2 separate regions of the Homo sapiens genome follow, and region 1 is linked to region 2. Evidence: promoter capture Hi-C in 16 types of primary human blood cells and fetal thymus (Javierre and others, 2016). All regions are on one chromosome and are shown on one strand. The core of a region is centred on a gene start or on the middle of the fragment in contact, and the rest is flanking DNA. Distances in the headings are between cores, read along the strand shown.

Region 1 (6,067 bases), core at 1,766-4,265, 250 kb before region 2:
AGGCTGGAGCCGGCTCCCTCAGCTTGCGGGGGAGGTGTGGAGGGAGAGGCGCAGGCGGGAACCGGGGCTGCGAGCGGTGCTTGCGGGCCAGCGTGAGTTCCCAGTGGGTGTGGGCTCGGTGGGCACGCACTTGGAGCAGCCGGCAGGCCCCGCCGGCCATGGGCAGTGAGAGGCTTAGCACCTGGGCCAGCAGCTGCTGTGCTCAATTTCTCGCAGGGCCTTAGCTGCCTTCCCACGGGGCAGCACTTGGGACCTGCAGCCCGCCATGCCTGAGCCTCCCCTGCCCCCGTGGGCTCCTGTGTGGCCTGAGCCTCCCTGACGAGCACCGCCCCCTGCCCCACGGCGCCCAGTCCCATCGACCACCCTAGGGCTGAGAAGTGCGGGCACAGGGCGCGGGACTGGCAGGCAGCTCCACCTGCGGCCCCAGTGCGGGATCCACTGGGTGAAGCCAGCTGGGCTCCTGACTCTGGTGGGGGACTTGAAGAACCTTTATGTCTATCTAAGGGATTGTAAATACACCAATCGGCACTCTGTATCTAGCTCAAGGTTTATAAATGCACCAATCAGCACCCTGTGTGTAGCTCAGGGTTTGTGAATGCACCAATCGACAATCTGTATCTAGCTAATCTAGTGGGGAGGTGGAGAACCTTTGTGTTTAGCTCAGGGATTGTAAAGGCACCAGTCAGCGCCCTGTCAAAAGAGACCACTCGGCTCTCTGTAAAATGGACCAATCAGCAGGATTTTGAGTGGGGCCTGATAAGAATAAAAGCAGGCTGCCCCAGCCAGCAGTGGCAACCCATTCAGGTCCCATTCCACATTGTGGAAGCTTTGTTCTTTCGCTCTTTGTGGTGAATTTTGCTGCTGCTCACTCTTTGGGTCCACACTGCCTTTACGAGCTGTAATACTCACCGCGACGGTCTGCAGCTTCACTCCTAAAGCCAGCGAGACCACGAACCAACCAGGAGGAACAAACAACTCCAGACACGTCGCCTTAAGAGCGGTAACACTCACCTGGAAGGTCAAGGTCTGCAGCTTCACTCCTGAAGCCAGCGAGACCACGAACCCACCAGAAGGAAGAAACTCCAAACACATCCGAGCACCAGAAGGAACAAACTCCGGACACGCCGCCTTTAAGAACTGTGACACTCAGCGCGAGGGTCTGCGGCTTCATTCTTGAAGTTAGTGAGACCAGGAACCCACCAATGCTGGACACTAACATAAACTGGAAAAAGGTAATTTGTTTTGCCGGATGGTCAGAATCGTTGCCAGACTTGTCCGGGGAGGCTGTATGGAGAATAAAAGGAATGAATTCAGTGTCAGATATTTATGTCTTATATGTAGAAAGGACTACATGTAAATTTTTGCCAACTTAATTTTAGTACTTTTTTTTTTTTTTTTGATGGAGTCTTGCTCTGTCGCCTAGGCTGGAGTGCAATGGCGCGATCTTGGCTCACTGCAACCTCCACCTCCTGTGCTTAAGCGATTCTCCTGCCTCAGCCTCCCCAGCAGCTGGGATTACAGGCGCCCATCAGCATGCCCGGCTAATTTTTGTGTTTTTAGTAGAGATGGGGTTTCACTATGTTGGCCAGGCTGGTCTCAAATTGCTGACCTCAAGTGATCCGCCTGCCTCTGCCTCCCAAAGTGTTGGGATTACAGGCGTGAGCCACTATGCCCGGCCTTTAGATGTGTCTTGTATTTTGCATGCAAGCGTGTGTTAGTGATGGACTTCTTTTGTAAAATAATATTATAGAAGAAAATAATTGTGGGTGTGTGTGTGTGTGTGTGTGTGTATATGTATATATATATATATATATATATTTTTTTTTTTTTTTATACAGAGTCTCCTCTCAGGCTGGAGTGCAGTGACGTGATTCTGACTCATGGCAACCTCCACCTCCCGGATCAAGTGATTCTCCTGTTTCAGCCTCCTGAGAAGCTGGGATTACAGGTGCCTGCCACCATACCCGGCTAAGTTTTGTATGTTTAGTAGAGATGAGGTTTCACCATGTTGGCCAGGCTGGTCTTGAACTCATAAACTCAGGTGATCCACCCCCTTTGGCCCCCCAAAATGCTGGGATTACAGGCTTGAGCCACCACCCCAGCCCCAGTATATTCTTTTGATTTTAAAAATTAAAATATTATAAAATTAAAACCCAAACCACAATGAGATACCACTTCACATTCACTAGCAGGGCTGTAATGTTTAAAAAAAATAAAAATAAAAAGTGTTGGGGAGGATTTGGGGAAATTGGAACCATTATGTATTGTTAGAGAGAATGTAAAACCATGTAACACTGGAAAATGCTTTGGCAGTTACTCAAAAAGTTAAACTTAGAGCTACTATATGACCCGGTAATTCTATTCATACATATATAGTCAAAAAAGAATTGCAAACAAATGGTCATGCAAAAACGTATACACATATGTATACAGCAGCATTATTCTCAATGACCAAAAGGTGGAAACAGCCTACATGTGCATTAACTGATGAATGGATAACCCAAATGTGATTGATCCATATAACAGATACATTATTCAGCCTTGGAAGGAAATTCCGACATGTTACAACATGGAGAACCCTTGAGGGCATTATGCTAAGCGAAATAAGCCAGTCACCAAAGGACAAATACTGTGTGATTCCACTCATGAGGTACTTAGAGTGTTCAAATTGGTAAAGACAGAAAGTAGAAGGGTGATTACTGTAGGCTGGGAGAAGGAGAGAATGGGGAGTTAGTGCTTAATAGGTACGAGTTTCCATTTGGGAAGATGAAAAAGTTCTGGAGATTGGTTGTACAACAATGTGAATATACTTAACTCTACTGAATTGTACACTTAAAAATGGTTAGAGACAACCAGGTGTGGTAGCTCATGCCTGTAATTCCAGCACTTTGGGGGGCCACGGTGGGAGGATCACTTGAGTCCAGGAGTTCAAGATCAGCCTGGGCAACATAGAGAAATCCTGTCTCTACAAACAATGCAAAAATTAGCCAGGTGTGGTGGTGTGTGCCTGTGGTCCTAGTTACTTGTGAGACTGAGGTAGGAGGATCACCTGAGCCCAAGGAGGTTGAGGCTGCACTGAGCTGTGTTTACACCATTGCACTCCAGCCTGAAAGACAGAGTGAGACCCTGTCTCAAAAAAAAAGGGGGGGGGGGAGGTGGTTAGAGTGTAAATTTTATGTTATGCATACTTTACCACAATTTTCAAAAATTATTTGAAAGAAGCCACACACAAAAATCTTGTTTAGTGAAATCACGTATTGTATGATTTCGTTTATATGGAATGTCCCAAATGGGCAAATTCACAGGAAGTAAGTAAATACTTGCCAGGAAATGGGAGGGGAAATGGTTGAGTAGGGCCAGTGATTCTGGGGCTTCTTTCTGGGGTGATGAAAATGTTCTGGAATTGGCCGGGCACGGTGGCTCACGCCTGTAATCCCAGCGCTTTGGGAGGCCGATGCGGTAGGATCATGAGGTCAGGAGATCGAGACCATCCTGGCTAACACAGTGAAACCCCGTTTCTACTAAAAATGCAAAAAAATTAGCTGGGCGTGGTGGCGGGCATCTGTAGTCCCAGCAACTCGGGAGGCTGAGGCAGGAGAATGGTGTGAACCTGGGAGGTGGAGATTGCAGTGAGCCAAGATTACACCACTGCACTCCAGCCTGGGCAACAAAGCAAGATTCCGTCTTAAAAAAAAAAAAAAGAAAAAATGTTTTGGAATTAAATAGTGGTGATGGTTTTACAACCTTGTGAATACTATACTAAAACCCACTAAATTGTGCACTTATTTAAAAGGGTGAATTTATGGTGTATAAATTAATTATATCTCAATAAAAATAAAAAGTGGTATGAAGAATTGGGAAAACATATGTATATGTATATATATGTATATATGTATATGTATATATATGTATATGTATATATGTGTATATGTATATATGTATATGTATATATGTGTATATGTATATATGTATATGTATATATGTGTATATGTATATATGTATGTGTATGTATATGTATATATGTACATGTATATATATGTATATGTATATATGTGTGTGTATGTATATATATATGCCTTGAGTCTTTTTTAATCAGTTCCCTTTGTCCTTTTAAGTTATACCCAACTGATACTATATTATCATAAGGTTTCCAGTCCAGATCTATCTGTATATCTTTATCTCTATCTATATATATCTGTATTTATATATCTCCAGAAAAATATGCAAAATGGCTTGCTGATTTTCTTTTGATTTTAAAACTTAACATGTTTTTGGCCAGGTGTGGTGACCCACACCTGTAATCCCAGCACTTTGGGAGGCCAAGGTGGGTGGATCACTTTAACCCAGTAATTCAAGACCAGCCTGGGCAACATATCGACACCCCCTTTTCTACAAAAAATACAAAAATTAGCTAGGCATGGTGGCACGTGCCTGTAGTTCCAGCTACTTGAGAAGCTGAGGCAAGAGGATTGCTTGAGCCCAGGAGGCAGAGGTTGCAGTGAGCCAAGAATATACCACTGCACTCCAGCCTGGGTGACAGAACCAAATCTTGTTTCAAAGAAGAAAAAAAAATCTACCCTTGAAGTGGCTTATGCCTGTGATCCCAACACTTTGGGAGGCTAAGGCAGGAGGATGCCTTGAGCCCAGGAGTTTGAGGCTGCAGTGAGCTATGATTATGCCATTGCACTCCAGCTTGGGAGACAGAAAGAGACCTTGTCACAAAAATAAATAATTTAATTAAATAATTTTTTTTCTTTTCTTTCTTTTTTCAGGGTCTCTTTCACCCTGTCATCCAGGTTGGGGTGCAACGGCTCAATCTCAGCTAACTGCCACCTCCACCTCCTAGGTTCAAGCGATACTCCCACCTCAGCCTACCAAGTAGCTAGGATTATACAGGTGCACACCACCACACCTGGCTAATGTCTTTTGTTTGTGTATTTTTTGTAGAGATGGGGGTTTTGTCATGTTGCCTAAACTCCTGGGTTCAAGCAATCCACCGACCTCAGCCTCCCAAAGTGCTGGGATTACAGGAGTGAGCCATCGCACCTGGCCAATTTTTTCCTTTTACTGTGTCTGTGGTTCCACAACTTCCTTTTTTCCTGTTCTCTATGGACTTTCTACCTCATTTGGACTCTGCTTAGATTGGCCTAGTTCTCTTTAATCAAATCTTCAGGAACCAATTCATTACCATTAAAAATGATCTAACAAGCTTTATTTTTTATCATTGTTAAAAATCCTCGTTTTGAGTAACACAACCACAAAGTAAAGAATGTTATCATTGATTTAACCAGTAAAAGACAATACTTAACAATAAAATTTTAAAAACATACGCCAGCCGGCTTACCTGGTGAAAAAAATGATTGCGGCTGCAAGCTGCATTTGCCAGACAATGGTTTTAGATTTGCTGTGCACGCTGAACGCCATGAAAAATGGACTGCCTGGCCTCTTCATAAGGAAATCAATTACTTGCCTCTTTCTGAGTGAAAAGAATGAAAGGATTTAAAAAATCATAATAACCAAAATGGGGAGAATAAAACAAACTGGGCAGAGGGATGGGCTACTTTGCGTCTTCAGCTTCTGAAGTCTTCAAAGCCCTCTTCCAGTTCTTAGAATTAGGTCACATGAAAAAATCTGGTAGGATGAAATGAGTGTCAGAGCAGGGAATGGAAAGGAGAGTAGAAACTTTATCAATGTGCTGTCGAGAGGTCTGAATCCACACTGATTCTTGATTCTTTGTGGCTGGAAGCTTACGGAATCTTCGCTGTCTATGGTGTTCTGCAGTTTTACAGTGATACGCCCTTGTGTGGGCCACTTTCATCCACGAGGTATTTTTGGTGGGCGTTTTCAATCTGGCAATTGTGTTTGATTCTGAGAACTTCTCCTGACAACTTCCTCTTTTCCCTCTTGTATTTATCTTGAGCTATGATTTTATTGAACGTTGGACTTCCTATTTTGGTCTTCTGACATTCTTATCATTTCTCTCCAGTTTTCCTCTTTGTCTCTTTTTCTTTTTGGGGTATTTGTATGTGTTCAGGTTTTTAAGATTTCCTTATCTTGGTCGTCCAAC
Region 2 (6,041 bases), core at 1,597-4,096:
AAAACTTCAAAATGTATTTTGTAGTGTTATTGTTTTTAAACTTTCTTCACATAAACTTTTTCACATAAATATAGATGTGTTTGGCTGCGAAATGAGGTTTGTAAAGTTTGCAAGTAAGGAAAGAAATACTGTAACTAGAGTCTTATAACATTAATGCAAAGTGACAGCAATTTAAAGTAATTTTCAAACATAAGCCCTGCTCCTGGACCAGAAGAATTCTACATATGAGAAAATCACAGAGTGATGTTTTATGTGATGTTTTACGTGATTGATCAATGGCCACAAAAGACTCTGAATCAAGGAATTTAGACTTAGACCTTATTTCATCCATAAAGTCTTTCTGTAGAAACAAAATTCTAATCACCACTCATGGAAACAGAGCTTGGGACAAATATTTATCATTAATCAAATTTAAAATGTACCCAAAGTAGGCTGGGCATAGTGTGTCACATCTGTAATCCCAGCATTTTGGGAGGCTGAGGTGGGTGGATCACTTGAGGTCAGGAGTTCAAGACCAAGCTGGGCAATGTGGCAAAACCCCGTCTCTACTAAAAATACAAAAAATTAGCTGAGTGTGGTGGTACACGTTTGTAATCCTAGCTACTTGAGAGGCTGAGACAGGAGAATCGCTTGAACCCTGGGAGGCAGAGGCTGCACTGAGCCAAGACCACACCACTGCACTCCAGCCTGGGTGACAGAGCAAGACTGTCTCAAAAAAAAAAAAAAAAAAAGTACCCAAAGTGTATAGCACAAGTACCAATCACGAAGTATGAGCGTAGGGGACTGGTAAGGGTTTGCTGTTTTCACCTACCTTCTTTGGAAATACTGGATCCCAAATTCAGCCTACATTTATAGAAAAAGACATGGCAATACACCTAAATGTATTCAGTAAGGGGCTTGACTTATTTTAAAATCCAATGTCATACCCTCTGTGGCTCAAAGCAACTGACTGTGACAAGAACTTTTATTTATAGGCAAGGCAAAGCTGCCCAGCAGAGCTTCCATCCAAGAAAATAAAACTAACAGTAGGGAGTAAGGAAATTAACTTTCAAAGCACCCTACCGTTTTGAAAATAACATTCTTATTCAATTTCTGTAGAAAGCTGGGACTTTGCGTTATTTAATGGCTAGAGTATAAATTAACACCCTTTTTTGTCAAATCTAATGATGTTACAAAGCAGAATTTAGAACATTTACTACTTACAAGCAAACTAACCCCCTTTCTTAACTTGTGTTCAATTGGGAAGGAAAACATCACCCAGGCATTTCAACAGCCATGCCCTCTTGCAAAATGTTTCTTACAGAACATCAGGATTTTATCTATACCAGCATTTTTATAAACTGCAGGTCTCAACTCATGAGTGGATCCTAAAACGCAATTCAGTGAGTCACAAGCAGCTTAGAAAAAAAGGACACAGAAAATTGCACATGATATTTTGTGAATAGTGTATGTGTTATGGGTATTGGGTGATGTTGCAATACATATTTCGTATTGTGGATTGTGGTCAAGAAAAACTTGAAAGTCACTCAAATAACCAAGCTGTAGAGCTACTCGATTACATGATTACACATATGGGTTTTTCAAACAAAGGCATATTGTTCAGCACCGGGTGTTTTTAAACAGAAACATAAAGGGAATGGAAGCCAGGGTGGCTAATGGTACATAATGGCCTTAATTACACCACTGAAGGATCAATATTAGCGTAGCTCAGTCACCAGCAGCCAAGGCACAGAAACTGGTACAGCAGGAAGTGGGAAACTGGGAATCGGTCATCCCCGCCTGATGCTCAGGGTGCACATTCCAAAAAGATGATTCCATATGGTCCCCAGGGCTCGCTTCCATGAAAATAGGGAAAGAAACAGGCGTTTGCCTGTAAGTCACAGAATCCTGCAGATGCCTGAAACACACTTCAGCCCAGCTCCCTCTCAAAGCCCAAATGTGAACATCGAAGTAAAACATTAAAAATCCACTCAAAAACAACAGGGTGGAGCTCCTGTTTCCTGGAGAGAAAGCAGTCTGCGCCCGGGAAAAGAGTCTTGGACTCCGAGAAGGAGATCCTGCCTGGCTGGGTGGGCGATGTGAAAACAGCCAAAGAAATCCAAAGGTTTCTTCCATCCAGAGCGGGCAGGCACGATGCCCTGCGTCGGGGATGGGACAGGGGCTGGCCTGGCCGCAGGGATAGGCTGCCTCTTTGTCCGAGGCCCTGCCCAGATGCCACGTTGAGATGCTCAAGGACAAATGGGAAAGTTTTTCCTGTACTCTCATCTTCCTGGGCCCCAACTACAGAGTCCTGGGTCAACTTGCAACTTCCTCTCCTTTCTCATCTCTTTCTTTTGGCCACTGTCTCTCTTCCCCAGACACCCACTTTGGTCACTGGCTTTCCCACCGCCCTGCTCCCCCCATATTCCGTGGCCCCCGCAGCCCCACCACTCCCTTTGCGAACTCCCTGCTTTCACCCTTGGCCCAACCTTGTCGCTCTGGGAGGACACTGGGAGTGGGGTGGGGTGGGGGGTGCGGCAAACCCCACTGAAGGGGTACGGGGATAACAAGATCCCAATGCGTCCGAAGCAGACACCGGCCCTCCCGCCGAGGCCGCCTCGAGGCGGAAGCCACAAGCTGCTCTCAGGACGACACCCCTGGGTCCTGACACTCTGTCCCCCACCTCCCTGGCAGGGGCCGAGTCGCAGCTTACGTGCAGTCCTGGTTGAAAGAGAAGCAGCTGAGCGCCGACTCAACCCCGCCCGGGGGAGCGTCCGCGGCCTCGGCCTCCATCGGGGGCTCGGCCCGGGAAGCCGCAGCTCGGAGCCGGCGACAGCCACCTCAGCAGCCCGCCCGCGCCGGCTCCACGGGCCGGGTCGCCGGTCCTGCCCCGCCCCTACCCCGCCCCGTCCCCACCCCGCCCCTACCCCGCCCCGTCCCCACCCCGCCCCTACCCCGCCCCGTCCCCGCCGCGTCCCCGGCTTCGCCCCGCCCCTTCTCGCCCCTCCAGCTGGTCCCGAGGACCAGAGCACCTGATAGGGCGGGGCCCCTGCCTCCGGCCACCATTGGCCACGAGCCCAAGCCACGGCTGGCGGGCACCGCCCCCCTTGGCCAATCCGTGGCAGCTGTGGGCGGACCCGCCCGGCTGGCGACCCGCCCCTGGCTTCGTAACGCGGCTCTCCATTGGACAAAGGCGCGTGACGCAAAGGCAGCAGGCCCACGTGGCGGTGTTTTCATTGCCGGAGCCGCCCAGCTGGGAGGGAGAGGGAAGAAGGAATGCGGCTGGGGCCAGATCTGCTGGTTTCAGTCCGGCAACTGCGTCGGGGCCGCCGCAAGGGTGACAGGAGGACGCGCTAGTTCCCACCCCGCCCAGACCCCTTGCCATGTGTAACTCTGCCTATTAAACTTACAGAGTTTAGCAGAGAGCGTTAGACTCCAAAGCCCCACCCTTTTGTCGAGTCCTCAAGCCGCATTGAGAGAAGCTCCTGAAATGGGGCTGCCTCAGCCAGAGAGATAGCAAGTTATCTTATCCATTGCCGAGCGGTTGAGAACCCTCACTACTTGCCAAGCGCGCCGTACTATGTATGTCATCTTGAATTCTTATAAAACTTGTGTGGAAAATACGATTGTGCTCAATATACAGAAGAGGCAACTGAAGCTCCAAAGCTAAACAATTTGTCTAAAGTAACAGTAAATGGTAGAATGTCTGCATGTCTGCTTTCAAGACCTGTGCACTAAATAACTGCTAAACAGTAATTTGCAAAAACAACGTAGCACCTAGCATGCGAGATTCTAGGTTTTCTAACCAGGACAGAAATGACTGCAGCATTTGACGGAGCTGGAAGGTGGGGGGAAGCACCTTTGATCTGAAAAGTTACAAAAATGGCACAAAGTATCTAAACAAGACCTATCCGATCCGCAGCTGAAAAAAATGAAAGTGTGTGTAGGGCAGTGTAGTTTATGAAAGGGGTAACGTCTTGAAGATATAGCACAATTCAAAACTCACGTAATTCGAGATAAACCTTAACAAAGAATCTCTTTTTAAAAGCTGAGTACTGTACATGTTCCCATGCGGAATTACTGTCAATACGGTTTATGAAGCAGGAGCTCTGCCAGCTTTGGATTGTATAACTGCTGATGGATTTTTAATTCATTTTTTCAAATTTTGAGATGATATTTTAGTTATTGTTATATGACAGTCTCTCAAATCAGCATAATTCAAATTTATTAGGTTGGTGCAAAAGTAATTGCGGTTTTCCCCATTTCCCACTTTTAATACCCAGTTTATGACAAAGCTACTTTTATGTATGTGTATATATATATATATTTAACCTTGGACCTACAATAGATGAACAAAGGGCACTATTTCACCTAAACCTTTCTGGTTGGATTTCCGGTTTGTGTTTTCTGAGATGCAAATGTAACAGTTTCTTTTCTCAACTTTATTATTTTTTTCTCTCCACTGATGTAAAAAATAGTTCAGCTCATAGATTCACAGATGTTATTGCTCTTTGGCTGATTGTGAGGTGTTGTATAAACTATCAGAAGTGAATGGAACTGCTGTTTAGATACTTTGTGCCATTTTTGTAACCTTTCAGATCAAAGGTGCTTCCCCCCACCTTCCAGCTCTGTCAAATGCTGCAGTCATTTCTGTCCTGGTTAGAAAACCTAGAATCTGGCATGCTAGGTGCTACGTTGTTTGGAGAATTACATGAAGTGTACCATAAAGTTTTTAAAGTGTAAGCTGTTATTATCAGTTTGTTATTAAGAGTTTGGACTTTATGGGATAGACCTGGGAGCTGGTGTTAGTTTTTGAGCAGGAGTGTTTCATGATAAAAAAGCAGTGTCTTTGTCAGATAAACTTGGCCAGGGTGTGCAGAACAAATTAGAAGTGGGAAAAGATCTAGAAGTCTTTAGGGGACTAATGTGAAATTCTGGAAGTAAAGGGACAGGAGAGACTAGGCTAAAGTGATGAAAACAAGGCCAGAAAATTAGACCAAATCATAGAGTTGTTTTCAGGCATTGCTGTCCAGTAGATAAAATGAGCCCCAAATGTGAACTCCACATTGTAAATTTCAGTTTTCTAGAAGATACATTTAAAAAGGTAGAAATAGGCAAATTAATTGGAATAATATCATTTATTTAATCCAATGTGTCAAAAATATCATTTCAATATAAAGATAATCAATATAAAGTTACTAATCAGTTAATTCAGGTTTTAATTTTTTTTTTTTTTGAGACAGAGTCTTGCTCTGTCACCAGGCTCACTGCAACCTCTCCATCCCGGGTTCAAGCGATTCTCCTGCCTCAGCCTCCCAAGCAGCTGGGACTTCAGGCCCCCGCCACCATGCCCAGCTAATTTTTGTATTTTTAATACAGACGGGATTTCACCATGTTGGTCAGGCTGGTCTCACACTCCTGACCTCATGATCCACCTGCCTCAGCCTCCCAAAGTGCTGGGATTACAGGCGTGAGCCACCACGCCTGGCCTCAGATTTTAATTTTTTTTTAGAACTAAATATTGAATATCCGGTGTGTATTTTTCACTTACACCATATCTCAGTTCACATGAGCCACATTTTAAGTGTTCATGTAGCTGGTGGCTACTTTATTCTCAGTAGAGTCTTGAGGGACTAAATGACAGGCATGGCAACTGATGGGGAAGGGGGAGGGGCAGGGAAGAAGAGGGAAGAGTCAAAGCTGATTTCATGGTTGGGAAGGGGAAGCCCATTGGGTTGCTTTTAGAAACTAGATCTTCAGTCAGGTATTCAGGAAGTTGTATTTCATTTCAGACACTTTAAATCAGCAGCAGAACTGCATGCTTACTGGAATCAAGGTTTGGATCTAGAGCTATGGCCACGGGAGAAAAATGGTCACCTTCCCAGCCTCAGCCTTTCCTGTGAATGGTCCCCCTTATATGTTTCTTTCCAGGCTAATGGTCCATTATGGCACCAGCCATGTGGAAATAACATCTCAGGGCTGCCTCATCTGATTTCATTTTTCCCAAGACAATATGTAAGTCTGTATTTTTATATAAATCTGTGCCTATTTTATTAAAAACC

Evidence for each region. The method cuts DNA at HindIII sites, captures the fragments that hold promoters and counts their contacts. A CHiCAGO score of 5 or more calls a contact.
Region 1: a fragment that was not itself captured here is called in contact with the fragment with the promoter of WIPI1 in region 2 in 11 of 17 cell types (naive CD4 T cells, naive CD8 T cells, total CD4 T cells and 8 more); the score reaches 12.7 in naive CD4 T cells.

Annotation. Positions count from the first base shown.
Region 1 is chr17:68,207,816-68,213,882 of GRCh38, forward strand. It overlaps a transcript of AMZ2 not described here. Among named protein-coding and RNA genes, the nearest start is that of AMZ2, 37 kb to the right of the region's middle. The HindIII fragment of the contact is 4,383 bases long and covers 825-5,207 here.
Region 2 is chr17:68,454,650-68,460,690 of GRCh38, forward strand. It overlaps WIPI1 (WD repeat domain, phosphoinositide interacting 1), which reads right to left and starts at 2,847. Exons shown (of 13, transcript NM_017983.7): 1 at 2,693-2,847. The coding sequence starts at 2,772. It also overlaps a transcript of PRKAR1A not described here. RefSeq lists silencers at 2,587-3,266, 3,003-3,289. The HindIII fragment of the contact is 11,803 bases long and covers 1-6,041 here.